2 separate regions of the Homo sapiens genome follow, and region 2 is linked to region 1. The links are contacts of gene promoters, found by promoter capture Hi-C in blood cells and fetal thymus (Javierre and others, 2016). All regions are on one chromosome and are shown on one strand. The core of a region is centred on a gene start or on the middle of the fragment in contact, and the rest is flanking DNA. Distances in the headings are between cores, read along the strand shown.

Region 1 (7,690 bases), core at 1,917-4,416:
TAATTTCTGGGGAAGCTGGAAGTTTAAATCCAGCTCCCGCAGCAGCAGCAGTGGGCCTGAGAGCCCTGCTAGAACCCATGCCTCATTCTGCCAGCCTGATGGTGGACCCACCAACAAGCTAGGGACAAAGGCCTTTCGTGTGTCTCCTGCTAGCAGTCTACTGGTTGACCTGAACACTCAGGAAGTAGAGATAATTAATGTGAGAAAGGTAGGGGCAAGAGAGTCTCTTGCTATGAATACCCAGATTGGTCGAAAGAAATTGCCAACGCAGAAGACACTTACTCTCTGCCTCTTAGAGCATAGCTCAGGGAAACTGGTAGCTCTTCAGAGAAATTCTTATCTTTAGCATGGATATAGCACTGCATGGTGCTACCTGAAGGGGGATTAGAAATGGCTAAGGGAAGTGGCTGAGCATCACTGTCAGCTCTCTGTTGAATAAAATAGACCCAGAAGGTCCCCAGGTTCCCTTGTCTCTGGCTGAGATAGGAAAACCAGTGAGGGACCTGCCAAGAGTACACCCCTAGTGCAGAAGGCAGTAAGGGAGGGTGTGAACAGCCTTAACTTGGGGACCAGATGGAAGATCTGGCTGAGATGAAGGGTCGAGTCAGTGGGGACCCCAAAAGGGCTGAGAGATTTCATCAGTCATGAAATCCAGTAGTAAGTGCTAGCAGGACGCTACTAACCACATCCAACGAGGGTCGTGATCCCAGAAGTCAGTAAGGGTCCAGCACAGGACCTGACCCCACCTCCTTATGTTCCTATCCCAGGACCCTTGCACTTGCTGTTTTCCCCAGCTTGAATTTCCTTCCCTCCATAGCCACATGCTCACACCGGTTGTTCCCTCAGGTCACAGTGAGACATTCCATGAACAACCCCTTAAAAATGGCAAAGACCGGGCATGGTGGCTCAAGCCTGTAATCCCAGCACTTTGGGAGGCTGAGGCAAGCAGATTGCTTGAGGTCAGGGATTCAAGACCAGCCTGGGCAACATGGCCAAACCGTATCCTACTAAAAATACAAAAATTTGCCAGGCGTGGTTGCAGGCGCCTGTAATCCCAGTTACTTAGGAGGCTGAGGCATGAAAACTGCTTGAATCCGGGAGGTGGAGGTTGCAGTGAGCTAAGATCGTGCCTCTACACTCCAGCACTCCAGCCTGGGTGACAGAGCAAGACCCTGTCTCCAAAAAAAAAAAAAAAAAAAAAGCAAATGACCTTCCCCTTCCCCTGGTGTTCACTATTTCCTTTCCTGCCTATTCTGCTCACTGTACTCATTATCTGACATACCATATGTTTCATTTATTTTTCAAATTCTTTGGGTCCTCCAGTAGAAGGTAAGCTCCAAGAGGACAGAGATTTTGCTTATCTTGTTTTGTTCCCAGTTCTACCTCTAGCACCCATCACAGTGCTTGGAACAAGAAATCCATTCAACTGTATTTACTGAATGAAGCAATTAATTATTTGATGACATATCAAGTTACTTTTCCCTGTAACCAGATACTATCCCAGGAAAGAGAAAGGGTGATGGAAGAAAGAGACATGCTGAAAGACTCAACACTTATTCAAAAGAGATTGAATTAGCTTAGAAATCATTTTAAAACAGAAAAGACAAATATTGAACTGCTGAGTTCAGGCCCAGCCCCTATGTGCCTTGTCACCCTGGGTTGTAAGTGCTATTTAACTGTCTCCCCTAGTTTGCTCCCCTGGTGCCATGTCATTTATCTCTGTAGTCCTGCTCCTCCCACCACTAACTCCCACAGTCAGGATGGAAGTTCCTGGGAAAGTTTGGTGAGTTAGAGAAAATAGAGAAGCCATATTTCTTTTGCAGACCAAAATTTCAGTGTGTTCAATGTTGTTCCCTCAACCTGATATTATTACACACTTGATGTTATTGCAGTTTGAGAAATGAGGAAATTGATACTCTGAGCAGCTGAGCTTCTTGTTGGGGCTCACAGAGTCAGAAAATGATGGGGCAGGTTTTAACCCGGGGTCTGGGCTTTCCTCCCTACTCCAGGTGAGTGGTGTTTTAGGGCCTCAGGAAGACACAAGGACGGAGGTCAGCTTGTTTAGGAAATTCACACGTTTCTGACTCTGTAGAAAGGTTAGCCGACAGCCTTAGGGTGGGTGGAAACTTCTGCCAGATGAGCAGGAAGGGATAGGTGGCTCATGCTGGAATTGGTGGGTGGTAGGTCTGACCAGGGTCTTTCTCTGTTTAAACCTTCCCATGGGTCCCTCACCTGGCATTTGAGGCCCACTGAGACCTGGAGCTTGAATGCTTCCTCAGCTTTACCCCCGCCTCTCTCCTAACCCACCCCTCCATGTTATGCAGGTCCCCGACACTCCCATGCTCTCTCCCGCATCCAACCTTTGCATAGGCTGACCTCTCTGCCTGGGACACCCTTCTGCTTTCCCCTCTCCTTCCTTTTCTATTTTCGACTCACTTTTTAGGACTCAGGATATCCCTCCAGGAGGACTCTCCTTTCCCTCAGCCTGGGCTGGACCATGTGTACCCAGCCCCCTGGTTTCCCACTGCCACAGCCGTGTCACCCTGGGTTATAAATGCTATTTAACTGTCTCCTCCAGTTAGTTCCCCTGGCACCATGTCATTTATCTCCGTGGTCCTAGCTTCCAGCGCAGAGTCTGGCACAGAGACAGCTAAGTACAAATGAGCTTTCTCTCCCATTAAGGTAGCTGTGATCTTCACAAAGCTTCGTTCATTCTGGGGACTATTTTGCAAAAGGGCCATACCTGCCTCTCCTCTTTCCTGCTTCTCTTGCTCACCCCTCCCACTCCTCCTCACACACTAGGCCACCCCCACATGCTCCCTGGAGCTGGGCAGGAAGAGGAGGGATGGAGCCGCTGAGAGAGCAGCTCTGGATGTTGTAGTTGTCATCTATCAGCTGGCACCTGCTGCTGGTGAGGCGCCTCCTGCCTCCTATACGTGGTGCTAGATGACAACCTGCAGCCCATCCTTCTAGCCCTTGGGATTCTCTGACCAGGCCTTAGTCTCTAAGCCCTGCCCCTTCCTTAAGGAGGTTCAGGTTACCTGGAGTCAGCTGGGATAAGAGCAGCAGCACAGTCAAAGTCAGCAAAAGGAGCTTCATGGCTAAGGCAGCCCAAAATGAAGCTGCAAGTCCGATGCCACGGCTGAGCTAATGGGAGAAGGAGAGTGCCTGGCCTGTGGCTCGCACTCCCTCAGCTGCCCACGGGTACAGCCCTCACACTCTGACTGGACACCCCTCCCTTTGTCATTTAGGTCAGCAGGGAGAGGACAGCCAACAAGGTCCAGGGCCCAAGACTTAATATACTACCCGTTCCTTCCACCCAGCTCCAAACTGCCTGAACCCAGTGACCAGCAGGAGGCGCCACAAACACCGGCTCCGGAAGGTCAGGGAAGACGGCAGAGTTTTGAAGAATAAATACAAAGCAACAGGTAGATGAGCTGAAATGGGGTTCCAGGTGGAGGAATGTCTGTACAAAGGCTCATGTTGGTGTTGAAAATGAGAAATATGACATAACCAGAGCAAAAACTGAGAGGAAAACGGCAGAAAGAGATGAAGCTCCGAGCACCAGCCTGTCTGTCACAGCCCCCTGCTGGGTTCTAACATGCGGTGGCCCTCCCCCTAGGGTCATCCTTCCGCTTCCTCAGAGATCTGAGAACCAACCACTCAGAATCCTTCTTCTGAACTCGGGTTTTGAAAACTCATTCTTGGCCGGGCACGGTGGCTCACGCCTGTAATCCCAGCAGTTTGGGAGGCCAAGGTGGGTGGATCACTTGAGGTCAGGAGTTCGAGACCAGCCTGGCCAACATGGTGAAACCCCATCTCTACTACAAATACAAAAAGTAGCCAGGTGTGGTGGTGCATGCCTATAATCCCAGCTACTTGGGAGGCTGAGGCAAGATAATCGCTTGAACCTGGGGAGGCTGTGGTGAGCCGAGATCGCGCCACTGCACTCCCGACTGGGCGACAGAGCAAGACTCTGTCTCAGAAAAGAAAAGAAAAGGCATCTCTTTCCTTTAGTTCCCTCAGCCCTCGGGTGGTAGCTGCATCCTGTAGTTACTGTTTCTCTGACTGGACCCTGCTTGAAACAGATGTCAAGGGTATAATAGCATACAGAGGGATTACAAGGGAAAAACAACAACAACAACAACAACAGTGAAAGCCATTTCTGTAGGGGCAGAAAACAGTCAATGGGGTTGAAAACTGAAAGGTAAGTGAAACAGTGAGGTCAGCAAGTGTAAATAATTCTTTCTAAAACCCTTACAATGAAGAGAAGAAGAGACACTGGCTAGGAAGGGACTCAGTGGAAAGCCTGGAAGTCCACCTTTCCTGTGCTGTTCATTTTTGGTAAGGAGGCTCATTTCATTTCTTTTTTTTTCTTAATTTTAAAAACTATTTTTTATCTTTTTGTTTTTGTTGTTGTTTTGGATACAGGGTCTTGCTCTGTTGCCCAGGCCTGGAGAAATAATGTATCTGTTGGATTCTTTTCTCCCTAAAAGAAGAGATTTTCCCACTGCCTGAAATGCCAGGATATATGGAGGATTTTTGTATTGAGAGTGACAGCAGAGTTGAAAATATTGGGTAACTAGTCCTGACACTGCTACTAGCTTTCTATGTGACCTTGGAAGAATTACTTTTTTTTTTTTTCTGGGTCTCAATCTCTTCAATTAAGGATTTGGGGCAGATGTGCAGTAGGGATCAATATATCCATCATATTATATGGTTTTCTATATAAAAGACACAGAAAGTAAAAGAATGCAGCAATCCAGGTTTTCAACACCAAAACAGGGCAAGGTAATTGGGTTTTCAGATAAGGATTCTCTAGCCTGCCCTTATCAGCCCCCAAGTCTCTGAACCACTTATATCACAGGTCTTTTCTCTTGACCCCAACTCCCAAGTACACTGTGTGGGTCTTGCAAAATCATTGTCCATCTCTGGGCCTGCTCCTTGCATAGTCAATGTAGCAATTTTGCTCTTGTTTTGAAGCCTTTGTAGTCCTCCTGAGGACTCTGGAGTAGCTGTGTATCCACAATGGGCAGGGGATAAGGGAGATGTCAAGGGAGCAGAGGGAGACTTATATGTGCACCTCCAGGCACACCTCAGACATCAGACACCAGGCACACCTCAGACATCATGGCCTGTTCATGGTGAGTCAGAAGGGCCTACTTCTCAACCTCACCAGGAATCAAGGACAAACAAATTCAGATGACAGTGAGGTATCATTTCTCCAATCAAATTGCCAAGAAAAAAAAATATATATATATATATATATAGAGAGAGAGTTGGAATCTTGCTCTGTTGCCCAGGCTAGAGTGCAGTGGTGCGATCCTGGTTTACTGCAACCTTTGCCTCCCGGGTTCAAGCAATTCTTGTCCCTCAGCCTCCTGAGTAGCTGGGACTACAGGCACGCACACCACCATGCCCGGCTAATTTTTGTATTTTTAGGCCAGGTGTAGTGGCTCATGCCTGTAATCCCAGCACTTTGGGAGGCCGAGGCAGTCAGATCACTTGAGGTCAGGAGTTTGAGACCAGCCTGGCAGATATGGTGAAACTCCATCTCTACTAAAAAAAAAAAAATTAGCCAGGCCTGGTGGCATGTGCCTGTAATCCCAGCTACTCAGGAGGCCGAGGCAGGAGAATTGCTTGAACTCGGGAGGCGGAGGTTACAGTGAGCCAAGATCGCACCACTGCACTCCAGCCTGGGAGACAGAACGAAACTCCATCTCAAAAAAAAAAAAAGAAAAAAAGTAATTTTCGTGTTTTTAGTAGAGACGGGGTTTCACCACGTTGGCCACGCTGGTCTCGGACTCCTGATGTCAAGTGATCCGCCTGCCTAAGCCTCTCAAAGTGTTGGGATTACAGGTGTGAGCCACCACACTAGCCAAGAGTATTATTTTATTGATGATCCTAGACTTTTCTAGGATGTAGGGAAAGAACGATACCTTGATCATAGAAATCCAAATCCAAATCCAGACTTTTTGGAAGTTGTTTGTCAATATCAAATCCTTAAAACATGCAGGCCCTGCAATCCAGAAACTTCACTTCTAAGGCTTTGTAATGGACCTTTGCATGCTCAGCAGTGATTTCCTTTTCTTCTAGTGACAGCCCCTTAATTTTCCTTTGGGGAGCCAAATCGCCTTCACTCTCAGCTCAAGATATTCGGGTAGGGTTCCCATCTTGCTTTTAGATTTTGCATTCTCTACTGAGCTGCTAGACTTACCTTTTATTTTTTATTATTTATTTAATTATTATTATTATTTTTTGAGACAGAGTCTCGCTCTGTTGCCCAGGCTGGAGTGCAGTGGTGCGATCTTGGCTCACTGCAACCTCTGCTTCCCAGGTTCAAGCAATTCTCGTGCCTCAGCCTCCTGAGTAGCTGGGATTACAGGCACACACCACCATGCCAGCCAATTTTTTTTGTATTTTTAGTAGAGACAGGGTTTGGCCATGTTGGCCAGGTTGGTCTCAAACCCTAGGCCTCAAGTGATCCTCCTGCCTTGGCCTCCCGAAGTGCTGGGAGCCCCCGTGTGAGCCACAGGCATAAGCCACCGCACCTTTTAAAAAGATGAATTTTTAAAGACTCACCTTTTAAAAATATGAATTAGATGTTGATTTATCTGATGGCTATCTTTGCACTAGGATACATTCCTACTCTTTCTGCTGGTCTGCACGATCTGGTTGCTGCATACTTCTCTGACCTCATCTCATAGCAATTGCTCCTCTCCCACTACTCTTCAGCCACGCTGGCTCTCCTTCTTTCCTTTAAATGCACGAATCGTGTTCCTACTTCAGGACATTTGTGCTTGCTATTTCCTTTGCGTGCAATATTCTTCCTGATTTTCTTGTGACTGGTTCCTTCCTCCCACTCATGTTTTAGCTCAAATAGGAAACTCCTGGGAGAGTTTTTCCTAACCACTAATTCTGATGTCACAAATTGTCACTCCATATTGACTTTACAGAGCCCCTATTAGATGCTGGTTCTGAAGAATAAACTTTGAAGTCAAGACAGACTTGGGTTAAGTGCTTGATCTTCCATTTGTGAACTTTCTGACATTGTATAAATTGCTTAACCTCTGTGGACTTAAAGTTTTCATCAGTAAAAAGAGATCTTAAAGTTACCTATTTCACTGAATTATCACAGGGAATAATGTATGTAAAAGGCTTAGGACAATACATGAATTGTTTATTATTAATAAACTATAACATCATAATAATCATTTAATAAATCTGACATGTAGAAATAGTACAGAAAGCATTATCTTATGACAATACCTGAGAGTTCACCTGAGAAGACTTGAATGTTTAGGGTGGTGGGATCTGGAAGCTTTTTCACTCATGGGTGGCACCTGAAGGCTGGGTTTATCTGGGGCTGTCAACCAAAGCACCCACATGATCCTTCCATGTGGCTTGGGCTTCATGCAGAGTAGCAGGACTTCTTACATGGGATCTCAGGGTCCAAGAGTGAGGGTTACAGCAAACAAACAGGAGATTGTATGACCCTTTTAGATCAAGCCTTGAAAGCATCACTTCTGCTGAACTCGATTGGTCAAAGTAGTCACAAGCATGCCTGGATTCAAGGAGAGGGAAATTTCTTCCCTTGATGGAGGCATATCAAATAATTGTCAATTATGGCTTTTTTTTTTTTTTTTAAATAGACTCTCTCTCTGTCTCTCAGGCTGGAGTACAGTGGCAT
Region 2 (7,690 bases), core at 1,712-4,211, 69 kb before region 1:
TCTCAAACTCCTGGGCTCAAGCAATCTGCCCACTTCGGCCTCCCAAAGTTCTGCAATTATAGGCATGAGCTGCCACCTCCCGCAAGAGTGCCTATTTTATTTTATTTTATTTATTTTTTATTTTTTTTTTTGAGATGGAGTCTTGCTATGTCACCCAGGCTGGAGTGCAGTGGCACGATTTCGGCTCACTGCAACCTCCAGCTTCCGGGTTCACGCCATTCTCCTGCCTCAGCCTCCCGAGTAGCTAGGACTACACGCACCCGCCACCACGCTCGGCTAATTTTTGGTATTTTTAGTAGAGTCAGGGTTTCACCGTGTTAGCCAGGATGGTCTCGATCTCCTGACCTCGTGATCCGCCCGCCTCGGCCTCCCAAAGTGCTGGGATTACAGGCATGAGCCACCGCGCCCGGCCAAGAGTGCCTATTTTAAAAAAGATTTCTATGTGTTGAGGCAGTTGTTTACTGCAGAATTAAGCCCACTTTAGGCTTACTACCAGCTTCTATCTAAAAATATTGACTGATAACCGAAAGTGTTCTAAAGGTGGTTATTCTGATCTATAGTTTTTTTGTTTGTTGTGAGACTGAGTTTTGCTCTTTTTGCTCAGGCTGGAGTGCAATGGCGCAATCTCGGCTCACCACAACCTCTGCCTCCCTGGTTCAAGCGATTCTCCTGCCTCAGCCTCCCGAGTAGCTGGGATTACAGGCATGCGTCACCACGCCCAGTTAATTTTGTATTTTCAGTAGAGATGGGGTTTCTCCATGTTGGTCAGGCTGGTCTCGAACGCCTGACCTCAGTGATCCACTCGCCTCGGCCTCCCAAAGTGCTAGGATTACAGGCGTGAACCACTGCGCCTAGCCTCTGATCTATAGTTTTTTAAAAAAGTATTTACAGAAAGTATAGAAGTTTTTGTGAATTTAATACAAGTTAGCCTCCAATTTTCTCTTCTCAAATGTTTGATTTATAGTTTTTGCTCCTTTACATATTTGCTTTTTTAATTTCAAGATTTGTAATTTTACCTTCAAAACAGTTCATTTTTAAAATTGTAAAGCATGTTTAACATACGCAGAAATAGGCTGGGTATGGTGGTTCACGCCTGTAATCCCAGCATGCTGGGAGGCCGAGGTGGGTGGATCGTGTGAGCCCAGGAGTTAGAGACCAGCCCGGGCAACATAGCAAGACCACATCTAAAAAATAAATAAATAAATAAAAAAAAGTCAGTATTTTGAAATTATTTGAGCTCAATGCAGTTCTACTCTTTGGAAGCAGATTAGCTAACTGAATCTGGTGCTCTTGTTGAATAGAAATAGGTGATGGGAAATGTCTATCATTTGACTTTATAAGGATAAGCAAGATTTACCATGATGCTTTGATTTGGGGGTGGATTCCAGTCCATCATTGCCCTGGCACATGTCAATTAGTACACACAAAATTCAATGTCAAATCCAGAGCCTCAGAGGAAAAAATTTATTCCCCAAGAGAACAATGATAACATAACAAAGTAAAATGTTATCTAGATTATATTGGTATTAAAATTATCTCTTATATAAAGTATATTGACTGTAACTATACATAGAAGATTCATAGTAACACCTGGAAGTTCCTTCTCATGTTATATATAAATTGAATTATGAAAGCTTTTTATATTACCTGTTTATGGCCTTATAGATTTAATGTACCAAATGAAAACTTCCCACTCTACCTCTAGATAAGATAAAATCTATATTTATTTTCAAGGTAGAGTTTTAAGTGGCCATATTTCTTAAGCCGTATTCAAAGGAAAATTTTATTTCAAGGCACATTTTCACTCTGTCACCCAGGCTGGAACACAATGGCATGATCACAGCTCACTGCAGCCTTGACCTCCTGGGCTCAAGCGACCCTCCCACTTCAGCCTCCCGAGTAGCTGGGACTATAGGCATATACCACCATGCCCAGCTAATTTTTCCATTTTTTATAGAGATGGGGTTTCACCATGTTGCCCAGGCTGGTCTTGAATTCCTGGGCTCAAGCGATCTGCTCACCTTGGCCTCCCAAAGTGCTGGGATTACAGGCATGACTACCATGCCTGGCCACTCAAGGAAATTGTGTCTTAACTAAGTTTGAATGCTGTTCCTCTTCATTTTGTATATGAAACTTCAGCTGATTTAATATTGACATTCATCATCTAGTCAAACCCTTCACATGTTCTTCAAACCAACCAAATTTGGGGTTCTTGACATTTTCTGTGTCAATAAAATTAGATGTGGATCTTATCTTTTTTTTTGAGATGGCGTTTTGTTCTGTCACCCAGGCTGGAGTGCAGTAGTGTGATCTTGGCTCACTGCAACCTCTGTGTCCCGGGCTCAAGCAATTTTCCTGCCTCAGCCTCCTGAGTAGCTGGGACAACAGGCACCCGCCATCACGCCCGGCTAATTTTTGTGTTTTTAGTAGAGATGGGGTTTCACCATGTTGGTCAGGCTGGTCTCAAACTCCTGACCTCGTGATCTGCCCGTCTCGGCCTTCCAAAGTGCTGGGATTACAGGCGTGAGCCACCACGCCCAACCAAGATGTGGATCTTATATTTTATTTTGAGATGGAGTCTCGTTCTTTCGCCCAGGCTGGAGTGCAGTGGCATGATCTCAGCTCACTGCAAGTTCCGCCTCCCGGGTTCATGCCATTCTCCTGCCTCAGCCTCCCAAGTAGCTGGGACTACAGGCACCCGCCACCGTGCCCGGCTAATTTTTTTTTTTTTTTGTATTTTTAGTAGAGACGGGGTTTCACCGTGTTAGCCAGGATGGTCTTGATCTCCTGACCTCATGATCCACCCGCCTCGGCCTCCCAAAGTGCTGGGATTACAGGTGTGAGCCACCACGCCTGGCCTGTATCTTATTTTATCTAGATCTACTAGATTTGATGAAGACTTGTTTTTTCCTTGCCATACTGGCCTTCTAGATGACCTTTGAATTGAATTTAGAAGATGGGAAAGTGTAGACCTGTCTTGGCCTGAGTCTTTTTTTTGAGATAGTTTCACTTTTTTTTTTTTTTTTTTTTGTTTTGAGATGGAGTCTAGCTCTGTTGCCAGGCTGGAGTGCAGTGGCACAATCTCGGCTCACTGCAACCTCCGACTCCCTGGTTCAAGTGATTCTCCTGCCTCAGCCTCCCCAGTAGCTGGGAATACAGGCATGCGCCACCATGCCTGGCTAGTTTTGTATTTTTAGTAGAGACAGGGTTTCTCCATGTTGTTGAGGCTGGTCTTGAACTCCTGACCTCAGGGGATCCACCTGCCGCGGCCTCCCAGAGTGCTGGGATTACAGGCGTGAGCCACCATGCCTGGCCTGGCCTGAGTCTTTTAACAGCAGAGAAGAGGAAGAGAGTGAGACCCTGAGGAGTGAGGGGGGAGACTGGCTGTTGACTGCAGGACACTGTCAATGCCTTATTGGTGGCATTCGCTAGACTTGGGGGCAGCCGTTATTCTGGAAGAAGTTACTTAAAAGTTAGAGCAGTTGTTTGAGCTGTATAAATCTGCATCCGTAGGAGCAGTGCCAGAAGTTGCAGCCCCTGCTGGAGCCTGGCTACCATTGCTCTGCCCATGCCTGCTCCAACCGTGCTGGGTGCATCTCACTTGATGCTGATGCTGGGTGTGTAGAGAACTGCTGGCTCAGGGCAGCTGCAGACAAGGTTGATGCTGCATGACTTCTGAAGCGAGGTCAGAAGAGGCCAAACAAGAAGATAAAATATTTTAGAGGAAATTAAAGAAAAAGGAAATAAGGAAGAAGCCAAACAGCTTCCACCTTGTTCAGTGGAACAATTGCTCAAGGACCTCTGAGCCACTTTTAACAAGTCTGACTGCCCAGAGACTGCCATGTTGTAAGGAAGCCCAAGTCACATGGAGAAGCCATGTGTAGATGCTTCAGTCAGCAATGCCAGCTGAGTCCAGTCTTTTTGTTATCTCAGTCCAGGTGCCAGACATGTGAGTGAAGAGTCCTCCAGATGATCCCAGTCCCCAGCTGCTTGAGTCACACTAAACCATCAAGTCTTCCCAGCTGGGGCTCCAGAGAGCATGGAGCAGAGTCAAGCCATGCCCACAAAGTCCTGTCAAAACTCCTGATCCCCAGAATCAGTAAGTTTGACAAAATAGTTCTTTTGGGAGTTCCTCTTTATGCAGCAATAGATAACCAGAACAACATGTCAGTTATGATTAGGTTTGGCTGGTTGCATGCAACAGAAAACCTCCAAATAACAACAATTTAAAACAGATGAACTTAAAGAGGCCAGGCGCAGTGGCTCACACCTGTAATCCCAAAGCTTTGGGAGGCCAAGTGGGCGGATCACCTGAGCTCAGGAGTTCAAGACCAGCCTGGCCAAAATGGTGAAACCCTGTCTCTACTAAAAATACAAAAATTAGCCAGGCATAGTGGTGTGCACCTGTAGTCCCAGCTACTCGGGAAGCTGAGCCATGAGAATTGCTTGAACCCAGGAGGAGGAGGCTGCAGTGAACCGAGATCATGCCACTGCACTCCAGCCTGGGTGACAGAGTGAGAGTCTGTTTAAAAAAAAAAATTTAAAACAGATGAATTTAAAGAAATGTGGAGTCAGGCAGCTCAGGGCCAGTACAGCAGCTCCATGGCTATCGGGGATCCAGCTCCTTCTGTCTATTGTATTCATCGTTCTAGCATAGGACTTCCATCCTCAAGGTCACCTCATGATCTAAGAAGGATGCTAAAGCTCTGGACACCTTGTTCAAATTGTAGTCTGGAAGGAGGAGGAAAGAGCAAAAGAGTTTTCATCCCCTCCCCTCTGACAATCACTCCAGGAGTTCTATATAATGCTTCTACTTACATTTAATTGGCCAGACCATAATTACCTGGTCATGTTTAGCCACAAGGGAGGCTGTGTGCACTCTATTAGTGGGACAGCATTAAGCTAGTTATTGGAAATCTTGCAATTGCCTAGATAAAAATGGAATATTATTTTTTTTCTTTTAAAAAAAAATATGCCAAGCTGCGCCAGGCGCAGTGGCTTACGCCTGTAATCCCAGCATTTTGGGAGGCTGAGGCGGGTGGATCACCTGAGGTCAGGAGTTTGAGACCAACTTGACCAATATGGTGAAACTCCGTCTCTACTAAAAATACAAAAATTAGGCCGGGCGTGCTGGCTCATGCCTGTAATCCCAGCACTTTGGGAGGCCGAGGTGGGCGGATCACCTGAGGTCAGGAGTTTGAGACCAGCCTGACCAACATGGAGAAACCCCGTCTCTATTCAAAATACAAAAAAAATTAGCCAGGCGTGATGGCGCATGCCTGTAATCCCAGCTACTTGAGAGGCTGAGGCAGGAGAATTGCTTGAACCTGGGTGGCGGAGGTTGTGGTGAGCCGAGATCGCGCCATTGCACTCCAGCCTGGGCAACAAGAGCAAAACTCCGTCTCAAAAAAAAAAAAATACAAAAATACAAAAATTAGCCATGCGTGGTGGTGTGTGACTGTAGTCCCAGCTACTCAGGAAGCTGAGACAGAATTGCTTGAACCCAGGAGTTGGAGGTTGCAGTGAGCCAAGATTGTGCCACTGCACTCTAGCCTGGGTGACAGAGCAAGACTCTGTCTAAAAAAAAAAAAAAAAAAAAAAAAAAAAGCCAAGCTGCAGAGTGCAGGAGTTTTCTTACAATGAAAGAGGAGGAGAATGGAAGTTAGGAGGCAACAGCAGTCTCTGCCATTGAAGGGCTCCCAGTGGAGTGGGCATTTGAACCAAATCTTGAAGGATAAAGGAGATTTTATTTTCTATGTTTTATTTTTTTTAATAGCTAATGTACGGCCGGGCGTGGTGGCCCAGGCATGTAATCCCAGCACTTTGGGAGGCCGAGGCGGGCGGATCACGAGGTCAGGAGTTTGAAACCGGCCTGGCCAACAACGTGAAACCCCATCTGTAATAAAAATTAGCTGGGTGTGGTGGCGCATGCCTGTAATTCCAGCTACTCAGGAGGCTGAGGCACGAGAATCAGTTGAACCCGGGAGGTGGAGGTTGCAGTGAGCTGAGATCGCGCCACTGCACTCCAGCCTGGGTGACAGAGTAAGACTCTGTATCAAAAAAAAAAAAAAAACCAAAGGAATGAAAGAATGGTTACTCCATAGGCAGAACAGCTGCATGGGCTGCTTGACTGAGTATATTTATAGTTATTTCTGGATTATATATTAAACAAGGAGTGGATTATCCATGAGTGTTCTGGGAAAGGGGTGGGCAATTCTTGGAGCTGAGGGTTCCTCCCCTTTTTAGACCATAAAGGGTAACTTCTGGACATTGCCATAGCATTTGTAAACTATCACGGCATGGGTGGGAGTGTCTTTTAGCATGCTAATGCATTATAATTAGCATTTAATGAGCAGTGAGGAGGACCAGAGGTCACTTTTGTTGCCATCTTGGTTTTGGTGGGTTTTTGCCAGCTTTTTTACTGCATCCTGTTTTATCAGCAAGGTTTTGTGACCTGTATCTTGTGCTGACCTCCTATCTCATCCTGTGACTAAGAATGCATAACTGCCTGGGAATGCAGCCCAGTAGGTCTCCACCTAACTTTACCCAGCCCCTACTCAAGATGGAGTTGCTCTGGTTCAAGCACCTCTGACAAAGGTATATATCAGAAGTCTACATAGCAAATCTAACAAGGTCATTTACATATTAAAGAATGTACGTCAAGCACATTGGAATGGTTGCCTATAGAGGGTTGGGAATGAGAGTGGCAACTGGGATTAAAACAACAAAAAAATAGGTACGGAAGTAAAATAAAGCCGGGCCCTTTTGGAAAATGGTGATGATAGGCTAGGAGGAAGGAATGAGTATAATGAACTTGTCACTCTGCTCCTTTCAAAATAGAAAACAAAAGGGAAAATTGAAGACTTTAAGAGAAAATTGTCATTTCAGAGTTCCCTTTGTTCTTTGTTGAGTTGGGGATGGAGGCTAGATTTGCAAAGGGAATGGGAAGTGTCAGAGAGAGAACCTCTGACAGACTCAGGGTTCTGTGATTTGCAAGGGCTGGAAGCACAGTTTGAAACGCTTTAGGCGAAGGCTGGAATGCATTGGCCTCTTGAACTCCAAGGAAGAGGTGAATAACCAAACCCCTGCAAGGACAGGCAGGGATGGAATTGGGCCTCACTAACCCCTGGAAGCCAGGATGTCCATGCTGCCAGGATCCTCTCTCTGCATCTCCTTTCTGTTTTTATCTGCTTTGTCTTCATTCTCTTTCACAGAAAACCAGGCTTGCTACAAACAGCAGCCCTCAGGAACTGAGTTAACATGTTATGATTTGCTGCAGGAACCTAGAAGCTCCCAGATCTGTGAGCTTCCTTGGCTCAAGTTGGTCAGGGGAGTCTTGAAGGGTGTCCAGTTCTACTCTCAAAGGCCTCTGGGGTGGGTGGTGAGGCTTCTGTTACACAGGCTGAACCTGAGGTCAGTGAGGATTTCCATAATCTCAGACCAAGCCATAAGATGTTGAATGTCAGGCCGGGTGCGGTGGCTCACGCCTGTAATCCCAGCACTCTGGGAGGCCGAGGCGGATGGATTACCTGAGGTCAGGAGTTCGAGACCAGCCTGGCCAACCTGATGAAACCCCATCTCTACCAAAAATGCAAAAAATTAGGCGGGTGTGGTGGCGCATGCCTGTAATCCCAGCTACTCGGGAGGCTGAGGCAAGAGAATCACTTGAACCCAGGAGGAGGAGGTTGCA

The links. Contacts are between HindIII fragments. The CHiCAGO score rates a contact against its expected background, and 5 or more counts as called.
Region 2: a contact is called between a fragment that was not itself captured here and the fragment with the promoter of DEFB123 in region 1, in 1 of 17 cell types (endothelial precursors). The highest score is 5.7, in endothelial precursors.

Annotation. Positions count from the first base shown.
Region 1 is chr20:31,436,108-31,443,797 of GRCh38, reverse strand. It overlaps DEFB123 (defensin beta 123), which reads right to left and starts at 3,166. Exons shown (of 2, transcript NM_153324.4): 1 at 3,042-3,166. The coding sequence starts at 3,099. The HindIII fragment of the contact is 4,618 bases long and covers 2,706-7,323 here.
Region 2 is chr20:31,504,932-31,512,621 of GRCh38, reverse strand. It overlaps the pseudogene CD24P3. Among named protein-coding and RNA genes, the nearest start is that of HM13, 5.7 kb to the left of the region's middle. The HindIII fragment of the contact is 2,650 bases long and covers 1,637-4,286 here.